2 separate regions of the Homo sapiens genome follow, and region 1 is linked to region 2. Evidence: promoter capture Hi-C in human tissues and cell types (Jung and others, 2019). All regions are on one chromosome and are shown on one strand. Each heading gives the region's core, a stretch centred on a gene start or on the middle of the fragment in contact. The rest is flanking DNA. Distances are from core to core; before and after follow the strand shown. Region 1 overlaps LINC00428 (long intergenic non-protein coding RNA 428). Region 2 holds the start of CCDC122 (coiled-coil domain containing 122).

Region 1 (3,052 bases), core at 257-2,756, 1.0 Mb before region 2:
CCTGTGAAATTGAAAGCCCACAGCCAGATACGGTAGCAGAAGTTACAAACCCTAACCAGTTTAATAAACTCAAACCAAGAGATTATAAAAACTGCTCCTACAGTAGTGAAACCCTAAATTTTACTTGCAAAAGTAAATGCAAAATTGAGCCATGGCGGGGGCATGATTTACATAGAAAAACAACCCCAGTTTAGCAGGAGCTAACAGTAAAAACTACAAACAACACAAGAAATGAAACCACCTGAAGGAAAATCAGCAGACACATCAATCAGGAGGCGCAACACTGATTTCCAAAGTAGCTGATAAAACAATCGAAAGAGATTATAAAATAAGTACGGAAACTAAAATGAAAGAGCTGGGCTATGAATAAAGGAGAGGCAAGTCAAAAATAAAAACAAAACACGTGACTGTAGGTAATTAACATTAAAACTTTATTAAAATGTAAAAACTCAATGAGTAGGTTAAGTAGCAAATGAAAACCAGCTCTAGAGAGAATTAGTAAACTACAAGATATATTTGAGGAAGTAACACAAAATGCAGTACAATCCAATACAAAGAAATATGAAATAGGCAAGGGGGATTAAGGAAGGGGAAGAATAGAAGAAAAAATTCGACATGTATTCAACAGAATATAGCAAGAAGTAGAGAATAGTAAAGAAAAAACAAAACAACAACAAAAAAAACTGCAGTATCAGCCGGGCGCGGTGGCTCATGCCTGTAATCCCAGCACTTTGGGAGGCGGAGGCAGGTGGATCACGAGGTCGGGAGACCGAGACCATCCTGGCTAACACGGTGAAACCTGGTCTCTACTAAAAATACAAAAAATTAGCTGGGCGTGGTGGCCGGTGCCTGTAGTCCCAGCTACTCGGGAGGCTGAGGCAGGAGAATGGCGTGAACCCGGGAGGCAGAGCTTGCAGTGAGCCGAGATCGCACCACTGCACTCCAGACTGGGAGAGAGAGCGAGACTCCGTCTCAAAAAAAAAAAAAAAAAAAAAAAACAGTACAGTATTTAGGTCTGCCTAATCACAGTACTCTGCAATCCTGGACATAAGGTTTGGTCCAAGGGTGAACACATATCCAAACAAGTCCATATAAAATCCTCCCACCACCATCTCCCAGGAGAGTTATGTGATGTTGGGAGCGTTAAGATCTTTTCACTTGGCCAGGCTCAGTGGCCTCACACCTGTAATCCCAGCACTTTGGGAAGCCGAGGTGGGACGATCACTTGAGGCTAAGAGTTTAAGACCAACCTGGGCAATATAGTGAGATCCTGTCTCTATTCTTAAAAAAAATTAATAAATAAAATTTTAATAAGGATCTTTTCACTGGGTTGCTGAACTGTGTGGTAAGATATAAAGTCAGGGAAAGGGTCTTGTGCTTTCGGTGGTGGGGCTAGAGAAAGGAACACTGCACCATGGAATGAAAAACTTTTCTAGCTCCTTAGCGTTTTCCCCCTACACACACTCATTGTCTTCATTCCTTATGCAAGCTATGTCCAGGGAGAAAGGAAAACATTTTTTCTTAGCACCCACTCAACCAGACACTTTCCTAGGCGGTGGGAATGATAACCTGAATAAGACCTGATCCATGGAGAACCTGAGTGCCAGAGGCTGGGAAGGGCTGGACCCCAGGTCTCCTGATGTTGAATCCAGGGCTTCTCCTGCTCTCTTCTTCCCTCCTAATTTTACAGCACTGTGTACCAGGTGCGACAGTGATTGAGCGCTAAGTAAAGGTATTTTAACCTTCGAGACACCCTGGTTGGAGTTCACAATGAAATGAAATGCACCAGCCTCCCTCTGGTAGCCAGAGTCTCTGGCCATGCTCTTGTAGCAGAAGCTTCTCATTTGGAACAGCTCAGACTCCCTGGGCTCTTTGAAAGGATTGGTGGAGATGAGTTTCTATGTTTTACAATTGTGACAAAAATCCTCTGCTCATAGCCTAAGGGAGTGTGAAGTGGAGTACAGGGTGAGGGCCAAATAATCATGCACGGGACACGCAGCCAGAGTGTCTGGGATGCCAGGGGGGTGTCTGCTGAGCGATTAGGACAGGGCAGCAGACACAGTGATTAAATGGAGAGGAGGGGCTGCTGAAAATGAAAGAAAACGCTGCAACATGCAAAAGCACTGCCATGCTACACCACAGAAAATAATGGATTAAATAATCGACTTAAATCCTTTTGCATCTGGGTGAAACCCAAGTGAAACCAAGTAAATTAACTCAAAAGGTTTCTGGACCAGCAACTTACCTTCAAGGCTGTTAATGTAAGCTGTTCTTTCTCCCTGAACTTCATTATAGACAGGATAACTTTTTCCTGATTCGCTTAGGACAGTCCCAGCTTACACTTCCTGTCTCAGTATCTTATCTCTTTCAGCATTTGTCTGAGATTTTTAAAGGAAAGTATTATGGTTAATAGTTGCATTACAGTTAGCCAGGATGGGTTCAGCAGACTTCTGGAGCAGATGCTGTGATGTCATCCCAGAGTCTCCTCAAGACTGAAGGGCTACTCCACCAGCTGCAGCGAGGGCTTCTGGCAGAGATCCCCAGCTGTCAGCCCTCATCGGAATTGCTTCAAATGAAGAGTGTCATCTCACCCACCACCATGCCCTCTTCCCAGGGTGCCCACAGCCAAGAACTGGTTTATAAGGAGATATAAAGGTCTGGCCCCCACTTTGTCTAGAGCTGGCCATGTGGTTGCTCTCTGTTGAGGCTGAATCATAGGCTGTGATGGTTAAGATTGAGTGTCAACTTGATTGAATTGAAAGATGCAAGGTATTGTTCCTGGGTGTGTCTGGGAGGGTGTTGTCAAAGGAGATTAACATTTGAGTCAGTGGACTGGGAGAGGCAGACCCACCTGCAGTCTGGGTGGGCACCATCTAATCAGCTGCTAGAATAAAGCAGGCTGAAAAAGGTAGAAAGAGCAGACTTACTGAGTCTTCTGGCCTTCCATCTTTCTCTCTTGCTGAATCCTTCCTGCTCTTGAACATCAGACTCCAAGCTCTTCAGCTTTTGGACTCTTGGACTTAGACCAGTGGTTTGCCAGGGGCTCTCGAGC
Region 2 (2,888 bases), core at 10-2,509:
CCCAGAGGGCTCTTCCAAATTCCCAGCTATCTGAGATTATGAGACAAAGGTTCTTTAGCGCCTACCAAATGAGCAACAATGAAGATAAAAGGGACCTCTCCTTCCATCATAACCAGTTCCCCAGGAAGCACCATTTCTCTTACTCTTGGAAGGTCGGATATTTTTTCCCTTTACCATACACTGGCCTTCCATGTCCTAACTGCTATTTTCAAATAAATGAACGTTATATTCTTGGAGGACAGATCAGGGATGCTAAACTGCACCTTTATCATGATTTTAGGGATGAGCGCCTTTTACTTAAGTCCTGCTAGTGGCACATATTTTAAAAGGCCATAGAGGACATCCGTGTTGTCAACACAAGTGAAGGCGCTCGGAAGAGTGTTGGTCAGCAAGAATCAGCACAAAGACATTGGAGGAGAGACAACAGCTTGTTTCTGGAAACAAATGAACAACAAAAAAACACTAAAACATCTCGAGGGGGCCCCTGACTTGAGCCCTGCATGGGAAAAGCTGCCAAGAGCTAGCATGACAAGGGACTGGCCCTGGGCTGCGGTGAGGAAACCCAGCGTCCTGACCACACTGCTGGGTCAGCGAGGCGTCCCTCAGAGACCGGAAACGCGGACTTCAGCTCGCTTGGGAAACGGCTTCCATTAGCAGAAGGGAGACTGCGGTTTAGTCCCGAGGTCGCTCCAGCAGCCCGGCCTCACGCGACCCACCATTCCCGCCGCCCCCTCACGGTGCCCGCCGTTCCCGCCGCCCGGCTTTCTAACCGGGCCCCTAGTTCCCCGCCCCGTGCCCTCTGGAGACCTGCAGCTCCTGCCGCCCTGCGCCCGCTCCCAGGGCCCGTCGTTCCGCCGCCCTATCCCTCCTCAAGGGGCCCCTAGCTGCCTCCTCGCGACCCTTTCCGGACTCGGCCTGCCCACTCCTGCCCGCTAACCCGCCTGGCTCCCGGGCGAGAGCCCTCGCGCGGCTCTGGTTCCTGTTCCTCTAACGCCGCCGGGGCTGCGGGATGCCGACTCCGCGGACCGCCCAGACCCGGAACTGCTGAGGCAGCAGCGGGCTCGCGGCGCTTGGCTCATCCCGGGATTCCCCAGCTCTCGCGCTGGGCCCGCCGCGTTCGCACCAAGCACGCCAGGCGGCCCTGGCCTACCTCCCTCCCGCCTCCCGGCAGCTGGCACGAGGGAACCTGGCCGTCAGGTTTCCCCTGGGATCCTGGGACGGTATCAGGCGGGGAATCTGTGCGGCCGCGGCGAGGTAGGTGAGGTGAGGCGGGGCGAGGTGGGCGAGGGGGGCGAGGTGAGGCGGGGCGAGGCGGGGCGAGGCGAGGCGGGGCGAGGTGGGCGAGGTGGGCGAGGTGAGGCGGGGCGGGTGTCGTCGCGCTGGGCCGAGCTTACGACTCCAGCTGACCCGCTCGCGGCTGCCCAATTTCGTTGAGGCTCAGGACGAGGGACGGGGCGGCAAATTGTCACAGAGGTCGCCGTAGACCGGTGTGCAACCGAAGGTGAAGAGCGGGAAGGCGAGGACCGAATCGCCTCTGGTGTGCGTTGTCCGACAGGAAGTCCCGAATGGGCTGTGAGCCGCCGGTGGAGGTGCCCGGGCAGGTGCAGAGCCACAGCCTGCGCCCCGTGAGCCGAGGCGGGTAGGAGGAACAGGGACCTGGCGGCGACACACGTTGGGCGGAAATTCACAATGAACAGGGAAGGGGGGACGGTCACCCACTCAAAACTGGCTAAATGAACCTCAGAGGGAGCCCCGAGAGATGGGGAGCAAAGGTTAGGGGAAGCGGCAGGAGAAAACCTTCTTGGGGCAAAGGGCGTCACCAAAGGGGGTCACCGGAGCCCCGCAGGTTGGGGTGGGAGGGCTGGGCTGGAGGTGAGCAAAGCTGCACGGGGAGAATGAATTAAGAAAGTTGAGAGGAAGCCTGTCTCATCCAAATCACTATAGCTTTTGTGGTCATTGCTAAGTGTGGAGTACTGCGCAAATCCTGAAGGGAACTCTATTAGCCATCTCAGCTTTTATCATCTTAAAACGCGAATTTCGCGTGCAGCTCCATTTAGCTTCGTAAACTTAAGCCCCCGCATATGAAAGGATGAGACCTAATATGACAATCATGTCAGGACTAATGATATATCACACAGGTTGACACTCTGCAATTTAAAAACAGGACTTTGTCTAAACTCCACAAGTAATTCCTTACTCAAAAGTTCTGTGTAAACAAAACAGAGGAACTGTCGTGCTGCTGGAAAGATGTACCAGCATTTTCACAAAACGAATTAAAAGATGGCTTTGCTTTCACTGTCATGGTTCTGTTGTGACAGAGTAGACTGGCTTTTCTGGGAGGGGCCTAGATTTACTATTTTAGTTACATTTTAAAATCAGTGTAATTACTTCGTTTTTAATCTACCACAAATTTCTGTTGTAACTATAAGATTTATATAATCTTATATTCTTACACTAATTTTTATTTGCAGGTGATTTATTTGGCATAAAAGTATTCTTTCAAGGATGGCAGAAGCTGTTTTGATTGATCTTTTTGGTTTGAAATTGAACTCTCAAAAAAACTGCCATCAGACATTACTGAAGACTTTGAATGCTGTCCAATACCACCATGCTGCCAAGGCCAAGTTTCTCTGTATAATGTGTTGCAGTAACATCAGCTATGAAAGGGATGGAGAACAAGATAATTGTGAAATAGAAACAAGCAATGGATTATCAGCTCTCTTGGAAGAATTTGAGATTGTTAGCTGTCCCAGCATGGCTGCCACTTTGTATACCATTAAACAGAAAATTGATGAAAAAAATCTGAGCAGCATTAAGGTAATTGTACCCAGGCACAGGAAGACATTAATGAAAGCTTTTATTGATCAACTCTTCACTGATGTTTACAA

The links. The method cuts DNA at HindIII sites, captures the fragments that hold promoters and counts their contacts. A contact is called where the count stands out against the background at its distance.
Region 1: a contact is called between a fragment that was not itself captured here and the fragment with the promoter of CCDC122 in region 2, in 2 of the 25 tissues and cell types used here (dorsolateral prefrontal cortex and lymphoblastoid cells).

What each region holds. Positions count from the first base shown.
Region 1 is chr13:42,863,432-42,866,483 of GRCh38, forward strand. All of the region lies in intron 2 of LINC00428 (long intergenic non-protein coding RNA 428), which reads right to left. Among named protein-coding and RNA genes, the nearest start is that of LINC00428, 7.8 kb to the right of the region's middle. The HindIII fragment of the contact is 5,174 bases long and covers 1-3,052 here.
Region 2 is chr13:43,878,481-43,881,368 of GRCh38, forward strand. It overlaps CCDC122 (coiled-coil domain containing 122), which reads right to left and starts at 1,260. Exons shown (of 7, transcript NM_144974.5): 1 at 1,151-1,260. It overlaps LACC1 (laccase domain containing 1), which reads left to right and starts at 1,424. Exons shown (of 7, transcript NM_153218.4): 1 at 1,424-1,639; 2 at 2,472-2,888. The coding sequence starts at 2,506. RefSeq lists a silencer at 1,162-1,311. The HindIII fragment of the contact is 6,836 bases long and covers 1-2,888 here.